Linked DNA regions of Homo sapiens: regions 2, 3, 4, 5 and 6 are each linked to region 1. The links are contacts of gene promoters, found by promoter capture Hi-C in blood cells and fetal thymus (Javierre and others, 2016). All regions are on one chromosome and are shown on one strand. The core of a region is centred on a gene start or on the middle of the fragment in contact, and the rest is flanking DNA. Distances in the headings are between cores, read along the strand shown. Region 1 holds the start of PDS5B (PDS5 cohesin associated factor B). Region 2 has its middle 70 kb from the start of RFC3. Region 3 holds the start of B3GLCT (beta 3-glucosyltransferase). Region 4 has its middle 110 kb from the start of RFC3. Region 5 has its middle 88 kb from the start of RFC3. Region 6 has its middle 24 kb from the start of RFC3.

What was found. The method cuts DNA at HindIII sites, captures the fragments that hold promoters and counts their contacts. A CHiCAGO score of 5 or more calls a contact.
Region 2: a fragment that was not itself captured here is called in contact with the fragment with the promoter of PDS5B in region 1 in 1 of 17 cell types (neutrophils); the score reaches 5.3 in neutrophils.
Region 3: the fragment with the promoter of B3GLCT here is called in contact with the fragment with the promoter of PDS5B in region 1 in 1 of 17 cell types (non-activated CD4 T cells); the score reaches 5.1 in non-activated CD4 T cells.
Region 4: a fragment that was not itself captured here is called in contact with the fragment with the promoter of PDS5B in region 1 in 1 of 17 cell types (total CD8 T cells); the score reaches 6.5 in total CD8 T cells.
Region 5: a fragment that was not itself captured here is called in contact with the fragment with the promoter of PDS5B in region 1 in 11 of 17 cell types (naive CD8 T cells, naive CD4 T cells, neutrophils and 8 more); the score reaches 12.4 in naive CD8 T cells.
Region 6: a fragment that was not itself captured here is called in contact with the fragment with the promoter of PDS5B in region 1 in 1 of 17 cell types (neutrophils); the score reaches 5.0 in neutrophils.

Annotation. Positions count from the first base shown.
Region 1 is chr13:32,584,642-32,588,370 of GRCh38, forward strand. PDS5B (PDS5 cohesin associated factor B) reads left to right here and starts at 1,811. Exons shown (of 35, transcript NM_015032.4): 1 at 1,811-1,952. It overlaps PDS5B-DT (PDS5B divergent transcript), which reads right to left and starts at 1,804. Exons shown (of 3, transcript XR_001749808.1): 1 at 1,736-1,804; 2 at 1,163-1,281; 3 at 377-928. RefSeq lists silencers at 1,496-1,865, 1,876-1,955, 2,376-2,625 and an enhancer at 2,856-2,915. The HindIII fragment of the contact is 4,434 bases long and covers 1-3,729 here.
Region 2 is chr13:33,746,599-33,750,002 of GRCh38, forward strand. No RefSeq gene overlaps it. Among named protein-coding and RNA genes, the nearest start is that of RFC3, 70 kb to the right of the region's middle. The HindIII fragment of the contact is 4,481 bases long and covers 1-3,404 here.
Region 3 is chr13:31,198,234-31,201,823 of GRCh38, forward strand. It overlaps B3GLCT (beta 3-glucosyltransferase), which reads left to right and starts at 1,742. Exons shown (of 15, transcript NM_194318.4): 1 at 1,742-1,921. The coding sequence starts at 1,852. RefSeq lists silencers at 1,383-1,442, 1,493-2,392, 2,453-2,702. The HindIII fragment of the contact is 2,637 bases long and covers 202-2,838 here.
Region 4 is chr13:33,706,861-33,710,571 of GRCh38, forward strand. No RefSeq gene overlaps it. Among named protein-coding and RNA genes, the nearest start is that of RFC3, 110 kb to the right of the region's middle. The HindIII fragment of the contact is 2,990 bases long and covers 95-3,084 here.
Region 5 is chr13:33,728,098-33,731,508 of GRCh38, forward strand. No RefSeq gene overlaps it. Among named protein-coding and RNA genes, the nearest start is that of RFC3, 88 kb to the right of the region's middle. The HindIII fragment of the contact is 6,126 bases long and covers 1-3,411 here.
Region 6 is chr13:33,840,463-33,843,966 of GRCh38, forward strand. It overlaps a transcript of RFC3 not described here. Among named protein-coding and RNA genes, the nearest start is that of RFC3, 24 kb to the left of the region's middle. The HindIII fragment of the contact is 4,422 bases long and covers 1-3,504 here.

The DNA.
Region 1 (3,729 bases), core at 561-3,060:
ATAATGGGGATAAGAGCACTGAATAATTTATACAAAAACTCTTAGCCGGGCATGGTGGCTCACGCCTGTAATCCTAGCACTTTGGGAGGCTGAGGCAGGCAGATCACGAGGTCAGGAGATCGAGACCATCCTGGCCAACATGGTGAAACTCTGTCTCTACTAAGAATTACAAAAAATTAGCTGAGAGTGGTGGTGTGTGCCTGTAGTCCCAGCTGCTTGGGAGGCTGAGGCAGGGGAATTGCGTGAACTCAAGAGGGAGGTTGCAGCGAGCCAAGATCGCGCCACTGCACTCCAGCTTGGCGACAGATCAAGACTCCATCTCAAAAAAAAAAAAAAAAAAAAGAAAGAAAAAAGAAAAAAAAATTCTTGCTTTCATCCTGGCTTTCTTCTGAAACTTTCTGGCTTCCTGGCTTTGGAGGTTTGGGAATTGAAGAAAATAAAGTAAAAAACATAATAAAAACAACCAAAGAGGAAAGGTTTTTCTAGATCTAGACATCCTACTCTCCCATACAAGATTTATGTTGATGGAACAACGATGTAAAATAAGAAAATTCCTGAGATAATTTTAAAAAGAGGGCAGAAAAAACTCATAGTAGACTTCATCGAGGAATGTATAAAATGGGTAGAACCTGGAGTATTCAGTGGCAAAATCTTGGACACAGGAATACAGTAACACAACATATTGGTCTAGCAAGCACTGGAGGAGACTGAGGCGGAATTGTCCAGCGAATCCCACAAAAATGGAAATGAAGAGGTCTCAGTATCTCTAGGTGCCCGGGTCCGATGGAATACCGATGTACATACCTTTTCTAACACAGTAGCATTAGTTTATATATCAGCATTACCTCTCTTTTGTTTCAGTTGATAAGTATCCTACTGTAATCCATTCATTCACACTTTGCTTGTTCATTGTTGAAACAAATTCTCCCTGGAACAAAATTCTAGTAACCAAATACATCATATCAGGGGAAACTTCCTTACAGCAGGGATGGTATTAAAGTAAAAAGAGGAGGAAGTCCCTTCTTCAGCTCTGGCAGGGACCCGGCTGGGGAGGAAACCTTCCCGCAAGGTAGGTGATCTGCTGTGGTGACCAGGCTAAACCCACTCTACAGCTGCAGGAGGGACTGGCATCCCTTAGAGGTGAAGAGGGGAGGAGACCCACCTCCTGGAATGTGTCCCTGTGGTCTCCAGATGATTTCTTCCTCTAATAAGGACAATTCTGCCAAAGGAATGGAATGCTTCGTCACAGGCTCAATTACTCTGTCTCCGCCAGCCTACCACCTATAAACAATTCCTCAAATTAGGAAAGCGGGGAGATTTAATAAAGACATAACACGTAAAGTGTAGGAAAACTATTTGTATGGCATTCCGAGACGACTAGGTCAGAGTTAACAAGTAAGGAGCAAAGTAGTTAATAATACCAATTCTGTTTACCCATCACAACACCTGTGCTGAATGTCAGGGTTTAAAAAAATCTCCCAACCTTTATCTAAAAAGATAGGGCTACGTAACAATCGGTGTGGTTTTTGTCGGTAGAGGTCTAGGAAGCCGCAAGAGTAGTGGACGCCTTGACAGCTGCCCTTCTCGCGGGCCCCGCGGCGGCGTGCCCGTGTGGTTGCGTGCGCGCGGACGGGGCGGGGCTGAGGAGGGACGTGCGCGCGCGCGGACGGGGCGGGGTGGAGCTCGGAGGGCGGACGCGCTCGGGGCCGTCTGGTCGGCAGGGGGCGCTGCGCACCCATGCCGCGCTCTGCCTGCCCCCGGGTGCTGTCCGCGGCGGTTCGATTGGAGCAGCCGCCGAAGAGCGCTTGGCGCCATTTTGAAGCGGAGAGGAGGAGGAACGGCAGGGCTGGCTGCGGAAGGGGAGGGGGGGGGAGAAGGCGATTGGATGCGGCGGCGGCGGCGGATCCCGGAGAGCCCCGGAGTGAGCGGAGTAGCGAGTCGGCAACCCGGAGGTAGGAAACAATTCAGTTAACGGAAAGAAAATGTCTCTCTTCTCTGGCTGCGGCGCTCCATTTTTCAGCGGCCGCCACTGCCGCTGTGTGCGTGTGTGTGGCAGGGCTGAAGCGCCGCCCGCCTGGGTGCCAGGCGCGACTCGCCTCCCGGCATCGGGGGCTGCAGCGGGTGGCTGCCTGGCGGTGGCCCGGGGCGGGGGTCGCGGGGCGCGGGCCGGCTGCGCGGTGGGGGTGGGGAGGGCCCCGCGGCCGGCGCGCGCCTCCACGCCGCGGGTTCTGCCGCAGCCTCTGGAAAATTAAACTTGCCGCTCTGATCCCGGCCGGGGCGGCGGCGGCGGCGGGCGGTGACCTTGCGCGCGGGCGGGGGTCTCGGGGCCGCCCGGCCGCCCGCGCCCTCCCGCCGCCGCCGTCGCCGCCGCCGCGCCCCTCCCCCCGCGCCCCGGCCGGCCGGCGGCTGTTTCCCGGGCGGCAGGCGGGCGGCGCGGTGCTCCTGTTGAATCCTCCCGCGGGCGGGCTTCTCCCCCTTCCGGGCGAGGGGCGGGCGGGGACCGCGGGTCGGGGCCGCGGGCGCTCTCGCCCCCGCCGCCGGGTCCCCGCGCGCCGCCTGGCCTCCGCTTCGGGCCAGGGGACGGGCTGAGCGTGACATTTTTGCACTGTCCCTCGCCGCTCGCCGGAGGGAAATCGCGCTCACCGCGCCACCCCGAGTGGTCCCCGAGCAGCCAGTTGAGGAAGAGCCCAGCACTGGCGTGGAGGGACTCCTCCCAGGCCACAACTGGGTTCTAGCTTTCCTTTCAGAAGGAACGGCGGGGAAAATGGTGTGCAATTGTGACTCGTTATTGTTTTTACACTGTTATTTTAATGTTACTTTAAAAGTTTTCGGTCCGGAGAAAAACCTTGTTTGTTGTTGTTGCTGCTACTGCTGTTGGTTTTTGGTAGAGACGTGAAAGCTAACTCTTAAGTAGCTCGACAGTTATTTTGGACGAATGACTGAAACCAGAAACGCCGCCCCTCGCCTTCGGAGCTGCAGGCTGCTGCGTTCCTTGCCGCGGACGGGGCGAGCTCCGGGAAGGGTTGGTAGAGCAGCTACCCACCCACTCCACGCGCGTCTTCAACAGCCTCTCTCCCCCAGCGAGGGTTAACCCTTTTTTATGTCGAAGAAAGTGCTTCTCGTACTTTTAATAAGAGGTGATGGATGGGCAGTGGTGCCCAGACTGATCCTACCCTGTTGATGAAATAGTTTCGAAAACTTTGGGTATAGCCTTAATTTAGAGGGTTGGTCTGCGGTGTGGAGAGAGTTGGGTAATCCTATACTATCTTCCTAATGAACTTCAAAAACTCAAGTTGTGTTTACATACAGGAGGCGAGCTGTAAATAAATCGTAATTACCCAATGCTTGAACGGCAGTATAGTCATTGTTCTCAGTTAACACATCCCGAGTTCCCAGACAGAACGTTTTTTATATTAACTCATGTAGTGGTCAGGTAAAGTAATTAAAAGCCACAAATATGGACTTGAAAGACAGCTCTTCATGCAGTACACATGTCTGAGATGTTCGCATCTTTAGGGACAATAAAATGAGTATTCAATGGTGTATGCAGGTCAGTTCGTGCAACAATTAATCTTGTATCTCATGGTGATAGCAGAAAACCTAATTAAAATTTGTAGTGCTGAATATGTAGGTGAAAATTACATGGGAACTTTTATGTGAAGATAGATTTAGTCTCAGAAACTTAACTGTAAAAACACATCTTAAGAACATTATTCCTTATAAATAAAA
Region 2 (3,404 bases), core at 601-3,100, 1.2 Mb after region 1:
GCCTGTAACCCCAGCACTTTGGGAGGTGGAGGCAGGCGGATCACGAGGTCAGGAGATTGAGACCATCCTGGCTAACACGGTGAAACCCCGTCTCTACTAAAAATACAAAAAATTAGCCGGGCATGGTGGTAGGCGCCTGTAGTCCCAGCTACTCGGGAGGCTGAGACAGGAGAATGGCGTGAACCTGGGAGGCAGAGCTTGCAGTGAGCCAAGATCACACCACTGCACTCCAACCTGGGTGACAGAGTGAGACTCCATCTCCAAAAAATAAATAAATAAATAAATAAATAAATAAAGCAGATTGGAAATACCAAAAGGATTAAAATTAGCATATTTTAAAACCAGCAATTCTAAAACATCCTAAGCAACAGCATAAATCATTAATTTGTCCTAATATTTACCTACAAAGAAGTTCATTGCAGCATTGCTTATCATATTAGAAGATTGAAACTAAACGGAATGTCCAACATAAGGGGATTTGTAGAATAAAAGCATACATCTTTCCAAGGGACTATGGAATAGATATTGAAAATGTTGTAAAGGCAGAATATTTCTATATATGGAGAGAAATAAGAAAAGCGGGTTATAAAACATACAATATGGTACACATTTCCTTCTTAGGAAAAAAGAAATGAGGCCTGGGGACTATATACATAATGGTATTTATCTGTGGGTGATGGGATTATGAGTTATTTTTATTTCTCTGTTTTTGTTTATTGGTATCTTATGTTAGTCTGAAATAAATATGTATTATTGGAGTCCAGAATATACTACCCCAAAGTATGACTGTCAAGGAGTTCAGGATATGCTACCCCAAAATATACTGTTTTGGTATGCAGTCAGCCCTCTTTATCCATGGGTTTTGTATCTAAGTATTCAGCTAATTTAAATCAAAACATATTCAAAAAAGAGAAAACAGCAACAACAAAACAATAATAAAAAATAATACAAATAAAAACCTAATATACTGTAACAACTCTTTTTGCAACATTTACATTGTATTAGGTATTATAACTAATCTAGAGATGATTTAAAGTATATGGAAGGATATATATAGATTATATGCAAATACTATACCATTTTATCACCATTTTATCATGCATACACACACATGTTAACCCAAAATAACTGAGACAGGTTTCAGTCAATTTAGGAAGTTTATTTTGGCAAAGTTAAGGATGCAAGCCCATGACACAGCCTCAGGAGGTCCTGACAACATGTGCCCAAGGTGGTCCAGTCACATTTTAGGGAGGCACCAGATATCATTCAATATATATAAAATGTACGTTGGTTCCATCTGGAAAGGCGGGACAACTCAAAGTGGGGAGAGGGCTTCCTGGTCATAGGTAGGTGAGAGATAAATGATTGCATTCTTTTGAGTTTCTGATTAGCCTTTCCAAAGGAGGCAGTCAGATATACATTTATCTAAGTGAGCATAGGAATGACTTTGAATAGAAAGGGAGGCAGGTTGGCCCAAAGCAGTTCCTGGCTTGACTTTTCCCATCAGTGTAGTGATTTTGGGGTCCTAATGAAGGAGGATATTTCCCTGACATTTTCATGGGTGGGAACTGGAGTGCATGGGCACTGGCAGGAGCAAACTCTACTCACTTGACCTACTGCACTCCACCTCTCTTGGGATGGGGAGCAGGCAGGTGAGCAGGTACAGGAGCCAGGGTGAGTGCTTTTGGGCACTGGCAAGTACAAACTCTGTACCAGCCCTGTAGTGGCATCTGGGGGTGGAGGTGCCCGTGACTCCTGTAGACTCAGAAGGAGTGTTACAGTGCCCTTTTAGCCTTGCCACCTGTGGGTGGCTTAAGTGTTAACAGCTCAGTGGAGGGTCAGTGTGACAGCCCTTTGCACCTACACTCATGGCACCCGAGATCTTGTCCAGCATCCAGAAGGAATGAGGTTGCAGGAATGAACTGAAGATGGCAAACACAGGAGAATTTATTGCCAATGAAAGTGGCTCTTAGTGGGAAGGGGAGCTGAAAAGGGGACAAAGTGGGAAGATAATCTTCCCCTGGAGTCCAGCCATGTCTGGCCAGACTCCTCTCTGAAGATATGCCATCAAGCTGTCCCTCTGAAATCAAGTTGCTTCTCTCCAACATCCAACCATAGTCTCCAATGTCCAACTACTTATCCTCCTCTCTGCTGGCTGAGTCTGGGGATTTTATGGGGTGGGCCATGGGTGATTCTGGAAAAGGCAACATTCAAGTGGGGAAACATGGATGTAAGCTCTCACTTTGGGCCAAGGTATCAGGCTTTTCAGCTCCAGGGTGGGGCCCTCTCCAGGGACTCACATATTTTATATACACACACACACACACACACACACACACACACACACGCACACGTATATATATGTGTGTGTATATATAATATGTGTATATATAAATGTAATAAAATGGTATAGTATTTGCATATATCCTACATATACGTGTGTGTGTGTGTGTGTGTGTGTGTGTATATATATATATATAAAATATGTGTATATATATTTAGTTTTTTTAAAAGAGATGGAAGTCTTTCTCTGTTGCCCAGGCTGGAGTAAAGTGGCACAATCATGGCTCCCTGCAACCATGATCTCCTGGGCTCAAGTCACCCTCCCCCAACTCAACCTCCTGAGTAGCTGGGACACCAGGCATGTGCAGCCATGTCCAGATATTTTTTAAAATTTTTTTGTACAGATGGGGTTTTGCTATGTTGCCTAGGCTAATCTCAAACTCCTGGCCTCAAGTGATCCTCCTGCCCCAGCCTCCCAAAGTGCCAGGATTATAGGCATGAGCCACTGTGCTTGGCCACTACACCATTTTATATAAGGAACTTGAGCATTGGTGAATTTTGGTATTCGCAAGGGTCCTGCAACCAATCCCCAGGGATACCAAGGGACAACTATATTTATTATTTTGAGCTGAGGGCACTTGAAAAGCAGCAAATGCAATGAGAGGCTTTCTCTGAACTCTCCTATCTGCCTAAAGACAGATCCTTCAAAATTGACTCCATTGTCATTAATCCCCTCCCTGGGAATTTCATCAACAGAAGAAGATTGACGCTTATTAAAAGAGAGGACAGGGCGGATCACCCGAGGTCAGGAGTTCAAGATCAGCCTGGCCAACATGGCGAAACTCTGTCTCTACTAAAAAATAAAAAAAATTAGCTAGGCATGGTGGTGGGTGCCTGTAATCCCAGCTACTTGGGAGGCTGAGGCAGGCGGAATTGCTTGAACCCGGAAGGCGGAGGTTGCAGTGAGCGGAGATCGTACCACTGCACTCCAGCCTGGGTGACACAGCAAGACTCTGTCTCAAAAAAAAAAAAAAAGAGGACACTGGAAATTGACACCACACCTAGGCAAATTTTGTCACAAGTGATCACATTATCATATTTATGCTTCTAAAAGCCCATTC
Region 3 (3,590 bases), core at 492-2,991, 1.4 Mb before region 1:
ATTTCCATGAAAACATTGATTAAGCACCAGGAGTTGCTTACCCACGTGGAGTAGGCATTTGACCCTGCTTATTAGTCTTCTGTGTCTAATTAAACAGTTTGGTTAAATGTTTACTACCCCACATATGCAAGGAATATTTTCTTGGAAAAAAGCGAAAACAGCTTTGGAAATTGGAAACAATCTAGAACTACTAGGCAGGTAAGCTTGAGAATTTCCCAAGGATAAAAGCAATGAATTCAGTCAACCATAGATTTGAAATGCTTCACTAAGAAATGAAATGGAAGGATCCCTACATTTCTTTTTCCTCCCATCAAAATGGTATTGACAAGAGACCATAAACCTTGGGCGAATGGAACAAAAGGGAACTATTTGCACTCACACTAAATGGATCACACGTGAAATATTTAGTTCCCAGTTTTAAGAAGTCAATATAAACCACACAGAGAGAAAATTCTTTGTCTCCAGGCCTCCTTTTCAAAACAATCCCAGCAGGTATTGCACAATTGCAGACAATACTGTCCTAATGCATTAGAGCCTAAGTCCCCTAAACGCATTCAAGTTAAGAGGGCTCAAGCCTACAAATGTTTATTCAGCACCTGCTTCTCTGTCTCCAGGACATCCTACTTGTATTCCCAGGGCCATCCTACTTGTACTCCCAGGGCCTCCTCCTCCTTAAATGTTTAGCAAGTAGGTGAATGTTGTATGTCCATGTGAAAGATACTGGCATTCCTAGGGTGCTTAGCAGAGTTGCAGTCACATAGTAGGTATCCAACAAATGAGTAAATATGAAGGAAAACATAGAAACTGCCTTCAAGAGGTCATGGGCTAAACTAGGGCTGGGAAAAGCACTTGGTCCTGTGCACTTCCTTGGAAACAGAAGTGAGCCAAGGCTTGAGGGAGGCACGAAGGAGTTCAGAACCACTGAAGGGAGCCTCTAGTTCTTACTTGTAATGCTTTCCCCTTCAGTGCACCACACAACACAACAGGACCAGTCCCCTATCAGGGCCACCACTCTACCGGGCTGGGGAGGAAAGCCCTTCGCAGTCCTGCGGGAACAGGAGGCACTCCCACATTGCTCCACTTCTCTGTATTCCAGTTTAATTAATTTTTATATTTTGAATAAAATTACACCCACTCTCTTCCATTATGGTGAACACTTAAAATTACATTTATAGAAAATTACATTTACACAAACTTGTTTAAAAGCCAAATCCCAGACCTAGGCTATTGGCCAAATTCCATTTAAAGGGGATATTAAGTAAATTAGTTGAGCTGATTAAAAACACCTTCATCAAAGTAGAGCATTGGTGCCAACAATATTAAGAGTTGAACTATTGATTACATTTTTTTTTCCACAGCAGATAATACATTAGCAGGGAGGAAAAGTGATTACTGCTCGCTTCCACTTCACAGGTAGAACTACTGATGGGGGTGACGCGGTAAGGTGGGAGGGCATGAAGGCAGGGGACGCGGCCTAGGTCAGGAGGGACGCAGAGGAGAAAGGAAGAGGAGGGGTGGAGGCTGGTGGCTGGAGGGGGCAGAGGTCAGACGCCTCGAAGGAGGGCGCCGTGAGGGCAGAGCCGCGGCCACCTCTACCGCAGCAGCCCGTCGGGCCGGACACCAGCCGCAGCCGCCAGCCCGGCAGACGCTGGAAGCGCGCACAGGGGTGCTCCCGCTCCCGGCCGCCAGAGGGCGCGGCCGGCGATGGCGCGGCGGAGACGGAGGGAGGAGGGGAGCCGGCAGAGAAGGGTCAGCCGCGGCGGCAGGGCGGCGGCGGCAGCGGCGCAGCTCCGCTCCCCGCGCGTCTCCCTTCCCCGCGCCCAGGTAGGGCGCTCAGCCTCCGCCGCCAGGATGCGGCCGCCCGCCTGCTGGTGGCTGCTCGCGCCGCCGGCGCTGCTCGCGCTCCTCACCTGCTCCCTGGGTAAGTAGCGGGCGGCCAGGCGCGCAAGGGCGAGGCGTGGGGTTCGCGGGCACAGTCGCCCGTGCCCCGGTCGGCGCGGGGAGGGAGGCGCAGGGCGGCCCAGCCCTGCCCCGCCGGCGCGCGCGTCCCGCCGTCCGGTCCCCGCCGCGCCGCGCCGTCAGCAGCGCCCTCTCGCGGCGCCCAGGTGGGACCCGGGCCCGGGACCCGAGGCGTGCCCGCTCGGCCCCTTTCGGTCTTGGGTCCCCGCTGCCGCCCCGGCCCCAGACTCGCGTCTCCCAGCCTCTGCCGCCCCGAACCGGCGGGCGACGGGGCGGCGAGGGCGCAGCAGCCGCCCCCACAGGAAGCGCGCAGGAACTGTGCCACCGAAGAAACTTTGCAACAGCGCGAGTGGCGGCGGCGGCGGTCCCGCCCCCCTGCCTTCCGCCCGCGCTCCGCCGTCCTGCGCGCCCCGCGCCGGGCGGGAGGCTGGACGGGAGCCGGCGAGGCGGCCCTCGAGGCCCCGCGGCTCCTGTTCGACCCCCGGGGGCGAGGACTGCGGTCCCGGTGTCCGCGCGCCCCTCCGCAGGGCCTTCGGGACGTGCCCTGGCCCCTGAGGATAAGCGGCCAGCTCGGCGCCAGCCCTTCCCGGATTCCGACCCGGAGGAGGACAGGGGCGCCCGCTGGGCCTCCGCGGGAGCTGGCGCGGCGGGGAGGCTTGCTCCTGTCTCGGGTCTCCGCTGGGGACATCAGGGGACACGTCTGCGAGCAGAGCAGTGCTTGCCCGGTCTCCTGCTGCTGTAATGCCCATTCTTTTTTATTTCTTTTCTCCTCGCAAGGGCATTTCCCCCCTTTATCTTAAAACGATGTGATAAAAGTTAAAAAAAAAAAAAAAGCAGCCTTGTAATTGACTTTCATGATCAGATTTGTTCAACTTTGAAAGCTTGAGCGAAAAATTATTTTTTTTTCAGACTGCTACAGAGTTTTTGTCCTCTAACCCAGACTTGCTGGTGTGAAAAGGCAATGATTTCAGATTTTTTAGTAATGGCAGAATGGTGCAGTTTAGGAAAAGACGTAGCGTTATTGCGCACTGCTCTTGTTAGCCCACCGGAACCTTGACAGCCTGTTTTTATTTGTATTTAAGCTCTCTGAATAAGGATTAATTTGCTGCATTTGTGTACTTCTGGCATTTCTATAGGCGCTCAGTAAGTGTGGGAAAAGAGCAAGATTAGTTGGTAATTGTTTACATGCATGATTAATTAGGCAGCAGTGTAATTAAAAATATTAGGGCACCTCCGGCAGAGAAGGCTGTAGTTGGTCTTGGGGAGCGACTGAATTTGGCTGGAATCGGCTTCAGTGGAAGAAGGGCATTGCTGGGTGGCAGCCCTGGGAGAAAGGGAGGTTGGAGGTTTGGGAAAGCGACTGGGTGACTCCTGGCTGCATCAGTTGGCTTGTTGCCTGGATGTTTTGCAACTAACCAAATGGGTGGGTGGTAGCTGAAATTGGTATTCTATTTATAGCACTGCACTTTATAATGCTGTACTGGGGGTATAATATTTGTATATAATATATACAACATATGGGCTGAAATGCACATTTGTATTGCTGTGTCTATTTTTTATTACCCCCAGGGGAATATTTGCACTGTCCAAATTTGATAATACACTGAAGGACATTCAGAATGCACTAAGAT
Region 4 (3,711 bases), core at 340-2,839, 1.1 Mb after region 1:
GAATAAACTTTCTACCCCTTTTCTTCTTTGGTTCCTTCTTTAACTCCAAGAACCCAAATATTTGCCCTCTTGATATTGTCCCATAGATCCTGTAAGCTTTGTTCTTTCCTTTTTATTTTTCTTCTCCTCTGACTGTGTATTTTTAAATACTCTGTCTTCTACCTCACTGATTTTTTTGTTTGATCAATTCTGCTTTGATGCTTTCTATTGCATTTTTAAATTTCATGCATTGCATTTTTCAGCTTCAGAATTTTTCAAAAAACATTTTATCTCTCTGTTAATTTTTGTGATAAATTTCTGAATTGAATCTTTGTGTGTTCTTGAAGTTTGCTGAGCTTCCTTAATACAGCTATTTTTTTGAGTTCTTTGTCTGAGAGATCCCACATTTTTATCTTTATCATTTTCTTTTTTGAGGCAGGGCTTTACTCTCTCACTCGGGATGAAATGCTATAGCTTGATCTCAGCTCACTGTGGCCTTGAACTCCCAGGCTCAGGCAATCCTCCTGACTCAACTTCCCAAGTAGCTGGGACCACAACACATGCCAGCACACCCAACTAATTTTTTTAATTATCTGTAGAGATGAGGTTTCATTATGTTGCCCACGCTGGTCTCAAACTCCTAGGCTCAAGCAATTCTCCTGTTTTGGCCTCCCAAAGTGCTGATATTACAGGTGTGAGCCACCACACCTGGCCTTCTGGCACCTTATTTTGTCTGTTTGGTGAGGTCATATTTCCCTGAATGTTCTTCATGCTTGTGAAAGTCTGCACATTGAGGGATCCGTTATTTATTTTAGTCTTTGTAATCTAGCTTTGTTTCTGTCTGCCCTTCTTCAGAGGGCCTTCAAGGGACTGTTGGGCAACTGACTGTTTTGTTCCCTGAGCCTTTGACCACTGCAGCTGTCTCAGCACTAGAGATATTCTAAGTCCAGGCTTGTTGCAAATCTCACAGGGGCTCCAAGGTTGATGTAGCTTTCTGGCCCACGTGGACCTGACAAAGACCCAGAGAAGTACTGGAGCTGTATGGGAGTGCTGGTCAGGGACCTGAGTCCAGAAGACTGTCCTGGTGACCTAGACATGTGTCCCTCCCAGCAGGTCTCGGCAGAGAGAAAATGGGTCCCTTACTGCAGTGAAAAGGACTGGAGTTGAGACTGGGCCACTTTGATATCTGCTGTTAGACAGAGGCTAGAGAGCCTTGTTTTGTCTCAGAGGGGTATGCATCACCCAGCAAGTTCTCTCAAACATAGGATAGTTCCCCAGCTGCAGCAGAAGTGGCCAGAGCTGAGACTATACCACTTCAGGATCTCTTCTGGATGGAGGATGGCATGCTTGTTACATTGGCTTAGATAAAGATGCATCTTCCAACAGTTCTCTGAACATATGGTATAATTCCCTGATTTCATCAGAAGGGGCTGAAGCTGAACTGGGCCCCTCAAGATTTCCTGTGAAACAGAGGCTGGAAAATCTCTTTTTTGCCCATACAGGTACATGTTTTCCAGCAGGTCTCAGCACAGATAAGATTATTCCCCAACTTCAGTGAGAATGGCAAGAGCTGAGACTGGGCCCCTTCAAGATCTGCTATGAGACTGAGGCCAGAGAGCCCAGTCTTGTTGTTCCAGAGGGGCACCTGTCTCCTACCAGGATGCTGCACAGACAGAATAGTTACCTGACTGCAGCAAGAAGGGCCAGAGCTGAGACTGGGCCCTCACGATCTTCTGTAGGACAGAGACTGGAGAGCCCATGTCATTGGTGCAGGTAGTTACATATCTCCCAGCAGATCTCAGCACAGATGGGATAGTTCCCTCACTGCAGTGAGAGGGGCTGGAGCTGACACTGGGTCCCCTTGAGATCTACTGTGGGTTAGAGGTTGGTGAGCCCATCAGGGAGACTCAAACCCTGAGGCAGGGATATATAGGTGATATAGGATTTACGACTCCCTCTGGGTCCTCTTGTAGCTCTGAGCTGGGACCTCAGCTGGGGAAGCCTGGGGCAGCCCCTCAGGACAACTTTCAGGTTCACTGCTGAGACTGATGTCAGTCTGCCAACCAACAATTCTTTCCACCAAGGCATTAGTGTGCATGATTTCTTCTGGATGCCTGGGAAGATGGTTTTGGTTGTAGACTCAAGGCTAAATGAAGCTATAACCAAGCCCCTTGGGAGACTAGGCTATTTATGGGCTTGAACCCAGAAACAAGTGTGCCAGGGTAGATCTGCCAACTAGATGTCAGTCTGTAGTCTCAAAACAACTCTCCTAGGTCTTGGGCTCCACTGTGATTTCACAAACTCCTACCTACATCCTGAGGCTCCCATAGAGAGACTTTTGACTGTGGATGGGTATACAGTTCTTCATATTCTGGGGGCGATAAATGGATTACCTTCTTTTTTTTTTTTTTTGAAACGGGGACTAGCTCTGTCACCCAGGTTGGAGTGCAGTGGTGTGATCTCAGCTCACTGCAACCTTCGCCTCCTGGGTTCAAGTGATTCTCCGGCCTCAGCCTCCTGAGTAGCTGAGATTACAGGTATGCCACCACTCCCAGCTATTTTTTGTATTTTTAGAAGAGATGGGATTTCACCATGTTGGCCAGACTGGTGTCAAACTCCTGATCTCAAGTGACCCGCCTGCCTTGGCCTCCCAAACTGCTGGGATTACAAGCATGAGACACTGCGCCCAGCCATGGTTTACTTTCTATTTTACCATCTTGGTGATCTCACTCTGGAAAAATTAATTTTTTAATGAAGGAACTCCTTAATCATACCTTGGAGAAGAGTATATATCACAGCATGACAAGATCTACAACTTAGTATAGGACAGAAAAAAAAATTATGTATTTATATTTTTCTAGAAGCTGCTAATAGTTAAATGATCCATTTTAGCACTGGTTTGATTAAATAAAGAAACTAGAAGACAGAAAAACTCTATAATGTTGTTTCTGTGTTTTTATATTGTCCTTTTATTTTCAGACAATGGAGACCATAAAAGTGAACACTATATCTAATAAATCAAGGAAATGAAAATACAGCTGGGTGCATGAATGAAAAAGGTGTTAATGATGTTTACATATTATTCCACTTTACAACGTAACAGAAAGCTTGCTGGCTATACACATTAGATCTAGAAAGTCCTGCAAGTTCCTCTGGGGAAAAGTTGCTGTGAACCACACAAAGCAGAATTTTCTTCTGACATCAGGTATATTATATAGTCACAAGATATATAAAAAGAGCAAAAAATAAAAATGCAAATATTCTGATGAATAACTTTCACATAGGTCCAGAAGATTGCTTAATGCAAAATTGTGTTTGGAAAATATGGAGGATTGTTAAGTCTATTCTTTCTCCCTTCTCTAAAAATCAGTGTGCTTGTTTTGCAAACTATAATCTTTATAGGTAATTATGAGGACTTGAATTTATTTTTGGTTCTAACTGCTGAGAAATATTACTGGGATTTAAGTTCTAAATCTTTTAACTATTTAAAAACACTAATTTAGTTTAATAAACATTTAATCTATTTAGAACCTATCTTGTTTAATGGCAAAATATTCATTGCATTTTGGTTTTAGTGTTACCATTTTGGGATCTGTCATCCCTTGGTGCCACGGTTCCTTCCTCTGAGATGCTAATTTGTGTGTCAGAGAAAACTGGAGTTGTATATCTCCAGGTACAAAAAGAGATGTTGTTATTGTCCTTTCAGCCTCTTTGGCTTCATTTTTTGTTATT
Region 5 (3,411 bases), core at 264-2,763, 1.1 Mb after region 1:
TTCTTTGCATGGGTTTTACTACTTTCTAGCACATTCTTGCAGTGTTCTTAGGTAGGCAGCAATGCTGTAAGACACAGTGAGGTGAAAATTAGGAGAAAGTAGTGACAGAATATTTTTCCTCTTAATGTAAATTGTGAAGGAAAAAAATTCCTCTACAAAAATTCCCGTAGTCTAAACTCCACATTTTCAAAAGTCCTTAGAGCCATGGCAAGTTTCCATGGAGCACAGATTGAACTCTCTCATGTAGAAGAATAACCTACTTGTTTTCAGGAGAAAGGCGGGAAAAGTGCCTGAAACCACACCCACTAATGACATCAACAATTTCCAGAAGGAAGGCTCGCCCATAAAAAGGGTGCCAGCTTGGCTGGACAGAGAAAGCATGATGGTGGCCCCACCCATGATGTCAGCCCTGGGCCCTGACCGTACAGAACCTTCACACTGGGTTTCTTAAGGACCAGTTGCCATCTTGTCTCCTCCCTCCCCACAGCCCAAACTCAAATGCTAACTTTGACCTTCCTTCCTGCCCCTGCTGTGTCAGTTGGCATGTCTCAGGACTGTAGCAAAAGAAAGCTGGATTTTTTCCAGGAATAGCTTCAGTCTTGCTCAGATGAAAGGCAGGATGCCAGGGCGAGGTGATTTTGTTATTAATCAACCTTGATTTGCAGAAGATGACACAGATGCCAGGTCTGTGCTTTAAGTATCCTTTCAGCAGTGCTGAAAGTCAAATATTATTCAGCTAGGTTCTAAGCAGGCAGTTTAAATCATGCTAAAGGCTGTGCCATTTCAGTGCTAGAAACAGGAACTGAAAACGAATAATGTGCTATTGGGAAACTGCGGTGAACTCTGTCATTTTGAACCCTGAGCACCTGTTTGTACTTGTAAAGCTGAGAGTTCATGTCGAGGGAACATGGAGCTATTGGAATATGGCAGGACTGAATCTGTCCAACTTGACTTCAAGGGCATTTAAGTGAAAATTTGCTTTAAACAGTCAATGCTGAGGAGAGAAGAGACTCTGGAAATCTATAATCTAATCCTTGGGGAGCATTTCTAGTTTAATAAGTGGTAGAACACATTGCCCATCTTAGACAATCACCCATAAAAAATGTCCTGACCAAAATCCTGCTAGGCTATGCAAGTACTCCTAGTACTGAATGTCGGCTCAGTGAGTGCACACTTTGACTTTATTAATGGTGAACCATTTATCTGGACCCATGATAAGAGTCAAGTCTACCCTTTCATAAATTGATTTTGTTTTGTTTTCTAATGAAAAGTTTTAAACAATCTATATAAATGGCATATTGTCTAAATTGTAAAGTGTCGAGATGACATTTCATTTGTTTTTTGTTCTATTGAGAAATGGAAAGGTTAAGGGCTTCGGTGTCAAATGGATCAAAATTCAGACTCCAGTTTAGATACTTATGAGCTGTGCAATTCTGAGCAGTTTGCCTAACCTCTTAAAACTTCAGTTTTCAGCCGGGAGCGGTGGCTCATGCCTGTAATCCTAGCACTTTGGGAGGCCGAGGCAGGTGGATCATGAGGTCAAGAGATTGAGACCATCCTGGCCAACATGGTGAAACCCCGTCTCTACTAAACATACAAAAATTAGCTGGGCGTGGTGGCAGGCGCCTGTAGTCCCAGCTACTTGGGAGGCTGAGGCAGGAGAATCACTTGAACCAGGGAGGCAGAGGTTGCAGTGGGCCGAGATTGTGCCACTGCACTCCAGCCTGGTGACAGAGTGAGACTCCGTCTCAAAAACAAAACAAAACAAAACAAAAACTTCAGTTTTCCTCATTTGTAAAATGGAATCATTATAACAATACCTTGCACGAGCTAAAAACTTTCCTGTCACATATGCTAGAGGCCTAGCCCAGAGTATCTAAGTGCTCCATAAATGGTGGAGAGCTGCCGAAGTAGTGGGAATGGAAGTAGCAAGAATGTTATGAACAGTATTTGTCTTTCTGAAAGAGACTGCTCTTGACAAAAAGAATCATATCATACACTTCAGTGGAATTTCTCAGCATTTCTAGCATGGGGTGCAGGCAACAATCAGTGCTAGCTGAAATGTACTGACATGAATGAGTTGGGCATCAGTACATTTTCCCAGCTAGGATAATGGAGCAGGGAGGCAAGGTCACCAACTATTTTCTAGAGAGAGACATGTTAACACACACAGAGTGCTTCACTAGAAACATAGAAATAAGAACTTCCTCTGTCACAAAGGGTGTGAGATACTTGAGGGTGAAGAGGGGAGCAGTGGGGGGTAGAAGGTGGGGAAGGAAATGATGCAGAACCATTACAACATGGGCCAAATAACAAGTGAGAGGGAACGAAAAGAAGGGAACTCATGCTTGCTGAGCATGATATGTCAGCACTTGACACAAAATCCTTACTCTACCCTGAAATTTAAGTCCTTTTAGCCTCAGAGAGCTTAAATAAACCTGCCCAAGGTCCCACAGCCAATAAATGGTAGAACTAAAAATTGTACTTAGGGCTCTCCACCTTCAAATGGGGGTTCACTCACAGCTGCATGCCGCCACCCTGCTGTATCACAGTGCTCAGGATTTTTATGCGATGCCAATTTCTCCTCCAGCTGCCTCCCTTTCCTCACCCTTCATATAGATGATGTATAATTTATCATTCAAACCAGGCGACGTTGGAGACTCGAAGAGGGAGCTGTTTCTCCAGGACAACAGGCCAAACCAGCACTGTCTTAGGCAACACTGGACAGTTACTCACTCCACTCAAAAGAGTTATCTACACTCTGAGCTTCCTCAGCCCTCAAGCACTAATAACTACACTTATGCTATTCACTCTCTAAATGCTCTGGCTAAGATCACTGAGGACCTCCATGTCCCTAAATCACAAAGATGTTTTTAGTCCTTTTTTATTTGACTTATTAGGCTATTCTTTTTTTCTTCTCCTCCTTCTTTGAGACCAAGTCTCACTCTATCGCCCAGGCTGGAGTGCAGTGGCGTGATCTCTGCTCATTACAACCTTCGCCTCCCAGGTTCGAGCGATTCTACTGCCTCAGCCTCCAGAGTAGCTGGGACTACAGGTGTGCACCACCATGCTCGGCTAATTTCTTTTGTACTTTTATTAGAGACGGGGTTTCATCATGTTGGCCAGGCTGGTCTTGAACTTCTGAGCTCAAGTGATCCACCTGCCTTGGCCTCCCAAAGTGCTGGGATTACAGGTGTGAGCCACCGCCCTGTGCTGACTTATTAGACTATTCTGATGACTTCCGTTGTTTGCTACTCTGCATCTCCTTGGCTTTTGGGATACAGTACCACACTAGTTATCCTTGAAAACTATTTCTAGTTCTTCTAACACATAATCTTCTACTCAACTTTTAAGTACTGGAGCCCCTTAAGGCTTGGCCAGAGACCCTCTTTATTGAAAAAAAATTATTTA
Region 6 (3,504 bases), core at 72-2,571, 1.3 Mb after region 1:
ACTGATATTTTTCCTGGTTGTGGGTTAGATTTCTTGCCTTTTTGTATGTGCATTAATTTGGATTGGATTCTGGCTCTCTCATTATTACATTGTCATGTTACATTATCAAGTGTCTGAATTCTTTTTTTTGTGTGTGTTTTTTTTTAACTGTTGGACTTTGTCTTGGCAGACAATTACAGTTGATCCTTGAACTACAGAAGTCTGAACTGTGTGTATCCATTTATACGTAGTTTTTTTTTCAATAAACAAAAAATTTTTTTGAGACTTAATTTGAAAATACTCATGGAAAAATGCATAACCTAGAAATATCTTTTAAAATTTTAAAAAGGTACATCATAAATGCCTAAAATATGTGTAGCTACTAGTCTGTTTCATCATTTACTGTGATAAAATATATACAAATCTAGTACAAAAAGTTAAAATTTATCAAAACTTTCACAAACTCAGACCATACATGGTGCCATTCACAGCCAAGAGAAATGTAAACAAATGTAAAATTCAGGGGTCCTCAGCCCCCTGTGGCCTGTTAGGAACTGGGGCCACACAGCAGGAGGTGAGCAACCAGTGAGCACCAGAGACTATTACCACCTGAGCTCCACCACCTGTCAGATCAGCAACAGCATTAGATTCTCATAGGAGTGGGAACTCTGTTGTGAACTGTACATGTGAGGGATCTAGATTGTGTACTCCTTATGAGACTCTAATGCCTGATGATCTGAGATGGAACAGTTTCATCCTTCTCCACCCCTTCCTCCAGCCTTCTGGGGTCCATGGATAAATTGTCTTCCACAAAACTGGTCCCTGGTGCTAAAAAGGTTGGGGAGTGCAGTATTAAATCATAACTGCATAAAATTACAGTACATACTATGCTGCCTGAATACTTCTGTAGCCACCTCCTGTTGGTATTGCAGTGAGCTTAAGTGTTGTATTCATTTAAAATGCCATGTGGTACCTTTACAGATTGAGGTCTAAAGCTGTGGTTGCCCTCAATTTCAGACAGTGTATTCATTTTGAAGTATCAGTACAGTACTGTAGGTGTAATTTCTCTTCCATATCACTCAATATTTTCTGTAGCTTATATAATAATACAGTATATAAGACATATACAAAATGAGTTGACTTTATGTTATTGGTAAGGCTTTCAGTCAACAATAGACTATTGGTAATTACATTTTGGGGGAGTCAAAAGTTATACAGGGGTTTTTGACTGCATAGGGGTCTATGCCCTTAACTCTTGCATTGTTGAAGGGTCAACTGTATTTGATTATCAGCTTGTTGTTTTTCATGCTTGTTTGTAAACTTTTTTGGAGTAGGCCTGGCGTAGTCTTGAGTCCTAATTTAGCTTTAAAATAGGGGCATGATATTTCTAGGGTCTCTACTGCATGTCCTGGAGATCATTGGGGTATAACCATTCTGGGTCACCAGAACTCAAATATCTTCCAGCCTTGTGGGAGCTCTGGAAATTATTCAGCTTGCAGTTTTTATTTTCTCCATGGTTTTAGTTACCCATGGTCAATTGCAATTTGAAAATATTATGTGGCCAGGTGCGGTGACCATGCCTGTAATTCCAGCACTTTGGGAGGCTGAGGCGGGAAAGTTGCTTAGCCCAGGAGCCCGAGATGATCTGGGCAACATATTGAGACCCTGTCTCTACAAATGATAAACAAAATAGAAAATTAGCTGGGTGTAGTGGTATGTGCTTGTGGGCCCAGCCGCTAGTGGGGCTGAGGTGGGAGGATTACTTGAATCTAGGAAGTTGAAGCTGCAATGGGCTATGATCGTGCCACTGCACCCCAGCTTGGGCCACAGAGCAAGAGCCTGTCTCAGGAAAAAAAAAAAAAGAAAAATCCAGAAATAATTTGTAAGTTTCAAATTGCATGCCATTCTGAGTAATGTAATACGATCTAATCTTCCACCATCCTACTCCATCCCACCTAAGATGTGAACCCTCTTTGTCCAGTGGATCCAGACTGTATCTGCTACTTGCGTGTTAGTAATCAACCAAAGATAACAAGGCAACTCTTAACGTAGGAGTGCTTTTCTGTGTAACTCCCTTCTTTCCAGATCTCTGCCCAACATAGGCAGCCACCTCAGCCTCTCTGAATTCTGCTCCTTTTCCTCAACTCACTGTTATCACAGTTCTCTACCTGGGTTTTTCCTTCCTACCCTGCAGCCAAATGTAGGGTGGGAAGGAAGGTTTTTCTTTCCCACCCCGCAGCCACTTTCTTCCAGGCAGAAAGCCAGAATGATGGTATAGAGTTGACCTTACTGGTTGCTTTATATATTTTGTCCAGTTTTTTAGTTGTACAGTGGGAGGGCAAGCCCATTAACAGTTAGTGGCAGTATAAGTCTTGAAGCTAGGATTCTAACCTAAGGCCCTGGTTTCCATGTGTGAATCAGTGTTTTATGCCATTCTTTAAAAATCTATGATTTTATGTTTCATATAAATTAAAAATTTGTTCATGGGATTTGTAGTTGTGCAGTATACATCACAACAGAAACTTGTAGTTTTAAGTGCTGTTTTACACTCTGAGATTTATCAGAATTGAGTAATAGTACATTAAATATTATTTCCAAATTATAGCACTTAATCACAAAACACATTCCTTAAAAAGTAAAACAAAAAAACAAAAAAAACCTCAACTCTTGGCAGCAATTTTCTTTGTACCTTGTTCCCAAGTAAAACATAGTCATCTCATATTTTTCAAATTGATGAACAGATTTCTCTAGCTATTTGCTCCTGTTTTTTTTTTTCCTGTTTACAATTTCTATGGAAATTTGGAGCATTATCACAAGATGTTCTCTATCAGTTTGATTATAGTGTACAAGATTTACAATAAATTACTTTCCTCTCTGCAGCTTTGCAAAAATAGTGGTCTCCACAAACCTCAGCTCCTATCTAAATTGCAGCCTAATGCCAATTTACAAACACTATATGGTACCTTTGTGGCTTAGTAGCTTATGCTCCTTTTGCAGTTGTTTAATTAGCTGATGGCCCACTGAAGTTACCTTCTCTTTAATATAGCAGCACCAGAAACTTAAGCAACTTCCTGAAGAGCAGCTGTGCAAAATAATTACTAGCTGTAGGCATGGAAAGAGCTTGACACAGTTTCTCTAGAATAACATTAAGTACCTTTATGTGAGGCACTATGCTAGATTCTTCACAGGCATTCTCTCATTTAATTCTCCTAACACTCTTTGAACTAGACATTATGATCTTGTTTTGCAGATGAGAAACTGGATCCAGCTGATCATGGGTGCCACTCTAATAAATTCACAGCTACCAACCAAGAAATGGGCTGTCAACACTGCCCAACGGACATATGTTTCTATGATCAAGTCTCCACAATGCCTTTTTCAAAACTTAATTTGGAGCAAATAATTTTACCTTCTTGTTAGCTACCGAAACCAAATCCATATGCAGCCTATGTTACCATATCCTCATTTGTATGCATCCTGTTGACTATATCTACATTTATATGCAACCTATATTCTCCTAATACG